Linked DNA regions of Homo sapiens: region 1 is linked to region 2. The links are contacts of gene promoters, found by promoter capture Hi-C in human tissues and cell types (Jung and others, 2019). All regions are on one chromosome and are shown on one strand. The core of a region is centred on a gene start or on the middle of the fragment in contact, and the rest is flanking DNA. Distances in the headings are between cores, read along the strand shown.

Region 1 (5,098 bases), core at 1,937-4,436, 1.4 Mb after region 2:
TAGTTATATATCCTGCTTCCTTGAAATAATTGAATATATTGATTTATGGGTGATAGAACAACTAATTTATATTTCTTTGCAGCTTTTAACTTATCTGTATTTTTCATGATAGTAATAATAATAGAAATTACAAATCAATTTTAGAATTGTATCTTTATCTTCTAAGATCTTAAGAGTAAAACCATTTAAACTATTTTGCAATTGCATTAATGTCCTCCCTGAAGTTGCTAGCAGTAGCAATCTAGTCTGTACCTCTAGCATTCTGAGGCTGAAAAGAAGAAATATGTAAAACTTCATCCCAAATGAACTTACGGAAAAGATTATGTATGTTTTAAAAGTTAGGGCCTTATCAAGTGTTTATTTTCTTTTCAATTTTATTGGTGTGTGGTTCTCTTGTTTTGAGAAGCAAGATCTGTGACATCAAACAAGGGTCATAAGCTCACCTGTATCTTTAAAAGAGTGATAATCACATCATAGGCTAATTGCTAAAATTAAATAAAATTTGTTATATACAGCACCAAGTAGGAGAATGCCACAACACAGCTCACACATGATAACATATACTTAACATGATGATGATGATGATGACAAACTGCCTACAAATATATAGTTAATAGCATAATAAACTAAGACCATCTAAACTAGCATTATTTCACTTTTCCAGAAAATTCTTGTCCAGGAAGATAATATTGCAATAACATAATTGTTTGTTTCAGAAACTGCCTGAAAATGTACTTCAATGAATAGATTGCTCTCTTGGCTTGCCTTCTTGGCACAATGAATCACACAATCAGGCAAACTATTCTCTTATCAAATGACTTCTCATCAAGATTCCTTGAAAACTCTCACACTTTTTCCACTAATTCTCAGTTATTATATCATGAATTTTGAATTCCTGCATTGAAAAACCCACCCTAAGTCAAAGTCTAATTCTTACAATGATCTACCTTTAGCATTTCTTTCAGAGACATTAACTACTAAGACTGTCAATATGATGTTTCCATTATTGCAGGAAGTAACAAACTCATCTTTGCTTAATCAACTGGTTATTTTAGTGTTTTGCTCAGAAAGTCATCAATTGAAAATGACAACGAGGGTGATAGTAACATTTATGCATTTGTACAGCAATTTATTTTCACTAGACATTTGCAGATTTAATAACCGGATTTTCAACATGTCATAAGATGGGAGTTTTTATATATTCCTTTTATAGATGAGGAAACATGTTTAATGAGGTTAATGTCATCCAAATAAGTGGCTAATTTAGGGAAGAACTCCTGCTTTGTGATTCTCTGTCCAGTGTTCTATTACGTTTTTCTGATTATGAGTGTCCTCTTGTCATCAATTATTTTCTATAGTTAACATAATTAAAAAAAAAATTTAAAGAATAAGCCTAAAATGACTGAAGATCCCAAAAGCCATATTATCCTCAGCAACACTGTTTGAACCAAGTGATTGTTTGAAGTTATTGTCAATTTCTAAGCCAATATAGTTATAGATGTAAATTTTAATGTATTCTCTTTATTTCTACAAGATGTAGATTTTTCAAAATTTTGGCAGGGAAAAGGTTCAAGGGGACCTCATACTTTACTATTCAAAAATTCACTGGTGATTTTTCTTTACAAAATATTCATTTAAAAAAATTCTTGTTAAACAAATAACAGTTATCTTTATCATGCACTTGAAAGAAACTTAGCTTCTATTCATTCATTTTTTTCTTTTGCGAAAGGGCATTTGAGAAGAGCCACTTGCTTAATTTGTAAAGGCGTTACAAATAACTCTAAAACTTCTTATAACAAGGTACAAGTGCATACAAGGGGAAGAGGTTTTCCTTAAAGACGTAGCTAGTCTACACACATAAATATAAGAATATAACTTGTTAATTTCCTTTCAGAAAGGCATCAAAATTCATGCTTTACTAAATGTCTATTTTTTTGTTACAACTTCAACTGCCAACAATGTATTGACCTTCTAGAAAGTGACATGCAAAATTTTGTCTTACATTGTGTATATCACAAAATGACTACTGCATTTTACAAATACTGATTAATGAAAAATACTTTGGCTCCATTCGTGGTCTTTTTGCTGGTTCTTACCATGATAAATATGCTTGTATATGTAACCCTCACAATCTTGGTCATGAATCAACTAGTTAAATTTCTGAACCACTCCATAGCAACCCTTGTAGGAGAATATTTAATGATATTAAAAATAATATTTTAAGTAATGGCCAAATGTGGGTTCACTCGCCAATCAGATGCTCAAGTAAGAAGTTCTCATCACAAGAGCTTTCAGCACTCTCTCTTTGACACTGAAGGGGTGCAAAGCGAGCCATATAAGAAGAAAATGGGAGATTTTTAGTGAAAAATGAGCAGAAACAATGCTCTCAGATTAAAGCTGCAATTTGAAGTAGTCATTTCTTGGCTGTCATCAACAAGAAAAGAAATGTAACTCCACAGTGCACTTTGAGCAAGTGCCTAATCAAAGATAGTCTTCCTAATAAAGGTCAGTTAATGTACTACAACAAGCACTAGCCCAGCCAGCCATCTCAGCCCTAAAAGGTCCTGGGAAAATCAAGAGATAATTCAGGTTGAATTTGCAGTAGCTAATCTCCACCTTACCTGCACCACCTCTGTAGCTCAGGATTATTACAAATCCCTTACTTAGAATTGGAATCAGACATGAACCCATTAGTGTTTTACATATATAAATATGTTAATTATATATTCTCATTGTAGAAACTTGATTTATTTAAATCAAATTATGGCTTTATCATAATAAATCCCTTGCTGTATTTTTCTCCATCCAAAACAACAGAAGTTGGAACTGAATATCTATAAACCTCTCACCAAGTTAAGATTACAATGCCCAGAGTGTGCCAAAAAATAAAAAGAAAGTCTTGCAGGATTCCTTCATTTCTTATTTTGCCTGCACATTTTATGAATTATAATGTAACTCTCAAACAAATGTCTGCATTTTGGAATAGTTTCATAACTATTACTGAACAATCTCATCATTAGCATTTTCACATTCCAAGCTGTAGTGTCCTCCTAATTAAAATTTCATGTTTACCCCTCTGCATAAGCTTGCCAAATTCTGAAGACTTTCAAGCAACTCATGTTCTGCTCATGAATACAGCCAGCACACGTCAATTCTCAATAAAAGGTTTCACATCAGTCTACTCTCATTTTCGTTATCCATCACAGTGCTTCCTGCCTGTATTATGCCAAAATGACTTTTTCACATCTTTGTAAGCTTATTTCCAGACTCTTCTAAGCATTGCCAAGATCAGATTACTTTGATTGCCATGGCTGTGTATTCTAAGCTCTTCGCAGACACAGAACCTGCCATAATTAGAAGAGAAAAGCTAACATGTTAAATGTTTGAATTGAATCAATAATTAACTGTGTAACTTTAACTATGGTCAAGGTTTTTTGTTTGTTTTGTTTTGTTTAACAACTACAGTAATTCCCCTTTATCTGTAAAGGATATGTTTTAAGACCTCTGGTGGATGCCTAAAACTACAGATTGTACCAAACCCTATATAGTGTATACTATGTTTTTTTCCTTATACATACATACATACCTATTATAAAGCTTAATTTATAAATTAGTCACAGTAAGAGACTAATGACAATAATAACAAAATAGAATAATTATAACAACGTAGTGAAATAGAAGTTATGTGAATGTGGTCTCTCTCTAATATTTTATTTTACTCTACCATAGGTAACTAAAATGGCAGAAAAAAAGCTTCAGGTAAGGGAGGACTACTGTATATCTTGCATGTCATAGTTGATTAAGACAGCTACTTTTTCTCCAAATGACTGTCGTTAATTGAAAGAATTAGAATAGCTACAGAGATATATCTATATAGGTAATGTAATAAATATTCTAGGTTTTTTTTACTCCATTTGTAAAAGGGACATTGAGCCATACATAAGGTATGAGATATTCCTTTGGGCTCTAAGTACTGTTTTTTATGAGATTAATAAGTGAAAAACACAACTGATCAGTCACAACCTTCAAAAGAAGAAGAATTTCAACAAAAAAATAGGTTGAATGCCATGTATAAACTTAAGATGTGTATAATTTTGTGGAGGAAGCAGAACGTGTACTGGTTTAAAGTCATAGTAATCCAATTTAAAAATGGAGAAATTCAGTCTCATTAAAGTAGATGATCTGACAAATAAATTACCACCCTTAGTTAGTGACAGAAAGAATCAAATCCCATGTTTTCTCTATTATCTGCTTTCAGTATCACAGCCCCAATTCTGGAGATATCCCCACACTTTTTTCTTTAATCTAATATTCCAATAAATCACTCTTTAAATTCAGTACTTCTAGACCCAGAACCTAAGATGGGTATTCTTATGTAAGTGATGCATTAAGGGTATTCTAGCAAGAGAAGCTTATAAGAAAGAGAATAATAGATAAAGAAGGGGATTTATTAGTCTGCTCAAACTGTCATAACAAAATACCACAGACTGAGTGGCTTAAACAACAGATATTTGCCTTCTCACAGATATGGAAGCTAAACATCCACGACCAAAGTACTGAACAATTCCATTCCTGGTGAGGGCTTTCTTCTTGACTTGCAGACAGCTCACTTCTTGGTTTATTATCCCATCTTTTCCTCCATATGCTTGCAGAGGGACAGATCTCTGGCATCTCTTCTTCTTCTTATAAGGATACAAGTCTTGTTAGATTAGCATTCACCCTTATGACCACATTTAATTTAGTTACCTCCCTAAAGACCACATCTCCAAATACCTTGGGGGTTAGGATTTCAACCTGGAGATTTGGTAGATGCACACTTAAGTCCATAACAGGTAAACCCAAACAACAATATAGTTTTAGCTGAAGTCTAGTCTTAGTTGACACAGAAGGAAATATAATGTGCACCACAGAATTAGTCCTGCCGAGGCTAGAGAGATAGGCTTTTGTGCCAGTTTTCTCACCACACCCAACCAAATAACATCACATTGGCTATTCATGTTAGTAAATTTGATAGGGGCAGGCAAGCATCCAAATTGGGGCTTAGCCTGACAGGGTGCTTGGCTTTGCCCACGAAAGAATTCAAGGGTGAGCTGAAGGT
Region 2 (4,948 bases), core at 1,000-3,499:
ATCAGCTGGCACCACCCAGATCAATAAACTGGCTCATCTGATTTTGTGACTCCCCAAACCAGAAACACTCAGCGCAAGAAGACAGCTTCTACTCCCTATGATTTCATCCCTGACCAATCAGCACTCTAGTTCACTGGGTTCCCCGCACCAAATTATTCTCAAAAACTCTGATCCCCAAAAGCTCAGGGAAGACTGATTTGAGTTATAATAAAACACTAGTCTCCCGCACAGCCGGCTCTGCGTCAATTACTCTTTCTCCATTGCAATTTACTTGTATTGATCAATCAGCTCTGTCTAGGCAGCACGCAAGGTGAACCCCTTGGGCGGTTACAGCATGTTGCCATTTAAGGGACAGAGGTACTGTCCCTTGGCCTCTAGGCTTTCTCATCACACTTTCTTATCCACAAACTGTTTAATCCAATTTTGCTTGGAAAATTACTAGTCATCTTATGTAAATTCCTGTGGCCATTCACATTGGGACATACTACATACTACTTCCTTCTTACATGAGAAGTGGCTAATTTAAAAAAAGTGTGCATTTCTGAGTGCCTGCTGTTAATACTTCAGGGTTCCTATTTTGTCTAAATGTGTGAGCCACGGCCATCTTCATCAGGCACAGAAACGTCCTATACCTCAATTTCAGGTGCTTTAAAATCTGAATGACCATCCCTTCAAACTTCCTCTATCAAAGTATATTTCATACATGCCATTTAACCTGTTTTAAGGTGGGTTTTTCCCAAAAAAGTAGTGCAAATCCATGTCCAACCATTTTCTCATTATGGTGTACAAGAAAGAAACTTCATTTTATCCAGGTAAGTTTGCTTCCTTTCCCCCTACCTCCAACTGTTTTTCCTTATTTGCATTCACGTGGATGTTTTAAATTTATATTTTGGATTTTGATTATTCAGTGTGTACAAAATTTAGTACATGCAGGATTTAGAAGGGACTGCAAAAGTCACTTTAAAAAAAAATTACCACCTTTTCAGTAAAGCCTCTTAATGGGGAAATGTGGTATGTGACTAGAAGTTGACTAATTTTCTTAGATGGAAGTATAAAATAAAAAGAAGCTCTGTTGTCACAAATGCGGATGGGGGGAAGAGGACAGACTTCATGCAGGACTGGAGTTGGACAGGGTTCAGGGCTGAGAACACACCTTACTACCCTGGCTTCCCCTTCTCTACTTTCAAGACTGAACCAATGTGCCCTATACAAGGCGAAGAATACACCCGGTCACTCCGCGGTGGTTAGAGTGGAGATTCACTGGGTGCAGTCTAAAGCGGGACGCAGTCTGGGGGCCACCGTCACAAGCTGCTTACAGCAACCTAGAGTTGTCGAGATTAATGTTTCTGGAATGTGAAGTGACTTAAAAAAAAATTAATCACTTCCTGGCTCGGTGCGGTTGCCTGTAATCCTGGCACTTTGGGAGGCCGAGATGGAGGATCGCTTGAACCCAGGAGTTCCAGACTAGGCTGGGCAACATGGTGAGACCTCCTCTCTACAAAATAAAAATAAGCCAAGCATGGTCGCGCGCGCCTGTAGTTCCAGCTACTCGGAGGCTGAGGTGGGAAGATCCCTTGGAGTTCCAGACTGCAGTGAGCCGTTATTGCGCCACTGCACTCAGGCCTAGGCGACAGAGCGAAACCCTGTCCCCCACGCCCAAAAAATCGTATTTCCTGAGGGAACAGTTCCAACTAAACATCCCACTTTGTGCGTAACTTTACATTCAATCCATCATCACCTCAAGAACAAAATGTTCTTTCTCCGCCTCAAACATGGAGGACAGAAAAACAGAAGTTCTCTCAAACCCACCAAGCACGCTGTTTTCCTGAGACGGAAAAGAAGGATAACAGCCGCTACGGCGCACAGCCTGTAGGGGAGGACGGCAACCAGGAAAGGCCAAACTTAGCCGCAGTAGTGCCGGGGCGTGCTCGCGGCCCACGGCGTCCCACGTCGTCCCACGTCAGCCTTGTCCCGGCAGAGCTTCACGAGAGGAAAGGCGGGATTCAGGGTGGGCGCGTGCCCTACGAAGACGAAACGAACTTTGAAGACAACTAGAGGAGCTCGCCCCCTGCCTGTGACAGCTTAGGGTCGCCTACTTTTTGTGGACACACTGCCGTCCACGGAGTGCAGAGGCCGCCTGCAGTTTTCTTGCGTCCCTGTGAGACGCACGGTGGCGCAATTCCCGAGCGTGCCAATCCCGGGCTGGCTGGAGGGCGGGCTCTTCAAATTTGAATTGCGGAAGTGTTTTGTGTGTTAGAGAACGTCGCGGAGGAGGTAAGCGTCGCTTGGCGCCTGGCCGCCGCGGGCAGGATACACCGTGGGCCTGAGGCGCGAGCCCGGCGGCGTGCGGCCCTCTCTCCGCGCGGAGCCGAGCCGGAACTGCGGCAGTCTCTCCCTGCCAGGCTCTTCATCCAAGGTACGTCCTCCCCGCGCCCTCCGCTAACCTCCTACCGCGGGTCCCCGCAGATGGTGGGCGTCTGCCCTTTAAGCATCTCGGCTCACGCGGTTTTATTTATTTTTTTTGTAGATTTCTGGCTTTGGTACGGATTTTATACTTCGCACTCGATGTTTACTTGTTGCGTGTCTACTGTACTTAAGAGAGTAGAACACGATTGCTCAAATTTATTTCGATGGTGAGCGTTCTAGGTCTTTGTTCTAAAATAAATTTTTTTTTTTTTTTTTTAGAATACCAAGTGGGAAAATTGTATTCCTCAGTACCCAACTCTTCCCCTTGGGACCCCAGGACCCACAGGGCTATAGAAGCAGTTGATCATTCAGCTTATGTTTTCTTCTGGTTAAATTGCATGCTTGTTGCAAACATCTTTAGATGTTAATAAAATTATTTAGAAAATGGTCGGGCGCGGTGGCACACGCCTGTGATCCCACACTTTGGGAGGCCGAGGCGGGTGGATCTTTTGAGCTCAGGAGTTCAAGAAAATGGTAGGCCACTTCATCCTGGCCTTCAAAGATAAACACTGTTTACAATTTGGTTCACCGCTTCCAGAGTTTTTCTCTATGCCTGTATGTGTTTTATTTATTTACTTAAAAATTTTTTTAAACAAATGCAATTCTATGTTGTTACTTTCTTTTTCAATTTAATGTTTCTTGGATACTTTTCCATATAAGTACATATATATCTTTTTATTGAATACATAGAGTAAATTGTATGGATGTGGCGGGATTTATTTTGTCCTTTATTGGTAGACATCTGGGTTGTTTCATTTCATTTTATGCTGCAGTGAACTTCCCTGTGTAGTGGGTGTGTAGACTGTTGCCTGTTGGTAAATAACTGAAGCTATGGAGTCGGGTAGAATCGGTTCCTCTTTCTCACTTATTGTCAAGTGACCTTGGGCAGCTTACTTAACCACCTTATACCTTAATTTCTCTTTTTTCAAATTGGGAGTAATAACAGTACTTAACTCTTTAGAGTTGCTGTTAGATTATATAGTGGCTGGCATGTAAATATTCAGTAAATATCGGCAATTATGGTACATATATATTTGCATTCTTACGCAGATGTTTCTATAGGAAAAAACAAGTTAGAAGTGGAATTTCCGTGTCAATAGTATGCATACTTGCATTTTGAAATTAATATTTACCAATGTGATATGAAAAAGAAATCTCACTGTTTTAGTTTGCATCTCCATTTATTAGTAAAATCAGGTGTCACAACTCGTTTATTGGCCTTTTGTATTCTATTAATCACCTTTCATGTCCCATGACCATTTTCTGTTTTGTATATTTTTTAAAGTTGATTTATTAGGTCTCTTTGAATGTTATTTAAATTAGCCCTTTGTCATATGTGCTGAGTATTTTTTTCAAGTGTATCATTTGCCTGTTAACTTAAAATTCTATTTTCCCCCTAATTCTATGTCCCAGTTTTGGTTAGTGTGCTCTGGGATTTTTGACCCATTCCATAGTAATAGTTATTACTACTACCACTACAGTAAATTCTTACAAGAACTTTCCATGTTTTTTGGGAGGAGGAGGAGGAGTAGTTACATTCAGGATCATATACATAATTGTTTAGCTTCAGTTCTGTATTTATATATGTCACTTGTAACTGACTGGGATACGTTCTGAGAAATACATTCTCAGGTAATTTTTGTCATTGTGCCAATATCATAGAGTGTACTTATAAAAACCCAGGCTATATATTATAACCTATTCTGGGCTTCAAACCTGTACAGCATGTTACTTTACTGAATACTGTTGGCAGTTGTAACACAATGATAAGTATTTGTGTATCTAAACATACCAAAATATAGAAAAGGTACAGTAAAAATAAGTTTAAAAAAAAGGTACACCAAAATAATCTTATGGGACCACTGTGTATGTGGTTTGATGTCATTATGCAGTGCATGACTGTACTATAAATGCTTATGGCCAGCCCTTTTTTTTTTTTTTTTTTTTTGAGGCAGAGTCTTGATGTCTCGCCCATGCTGGAGTGCAGTGGCGCGATGTCGGCTCACTGCAAGCTCCGCCTCCCGGGTTCACTCCATTCTCCTGCCTCAGCCTCCCAAGTAGCTGGGAATACAGGCGCGTGTCACCACGCCCGGCTAATTTTTTGTATTTTTAGTAGAGACCGGTTTTCACCGTGTTAGACAGGATGGTCTCCATCTCCTGACCTCGTGATTCGCCGTCATTCGCCTCGTGATCACTTGGCCTCCCAAAGTGCTGGGATTACAGGCGTGAGCCACCGCACGCGGCCTGGCCAGCCCTTTCATCCAATGGTTTTCCCATTCCCATGTCTTTATGTTGAAAACAATTTTTTTTCCCTAGTACATCAACATTTGTCAGTTTTTAGAATAAGTTTTAAGGATTAGATTTTTCCAAACAACTTTAAGCAGTTAATGAAAACGGAAACATACTTTCTCCAGTCTGAGAGGAACTAACAATTTCTTGTTAGTGACCTCCATCTGTTAGGTCAACAAATGTGCTTGGCTTC

Evidence for each region. The method cuts DNA at HindIII sites, captures the fragments that hold promoters and counts their contacts. A contact is called where the count stands out against the background at its distance.
Region 1: a fragment that was not itself captured here is called in contact with the fragment with the promoter of MIS18BP1 in region 2 in 1 of the 25 tissues and cell types used here (lymphoblastoid cells).

The regions. Positions count from the first base shown.
Region 1 is chr14:43,875,772-43,880,869 of GRCh38, reverse strand. No RefSeq gene overlaps it. Among named protein-coding and RNA genes, the nearest start is that of LINC02307, 510 kb to the left of the region's middle. The HindIII fragment of the contact is 4,079 bases long and covers 1,147-5,098 here.
Region 2 is chr14:45,250,503-45,255,450 of GRCh38, reverse strand. MIS18BP1 (MIS18 binding protein 1) reads left to right here and starts at 2,249. Exons shown (of 17, transcript NM_018353.5): 1 at 2,249-2,416. It overlaps LOC107984674 (a long non-coding RNA gene), which reads right to left and starts at 2,160. Exons shown (of 4, transcript XR_001750746.2): 1 at 1,810-2,160. RefSeq lists enhancers at 1,601-1,660, 1,731-1,920, 1,082-2,031, 1,941-2,120, 2,221-2,280 and 1 more. The HindIII fragment of the contact is 14,218 bases long and covers 1-4,948 here.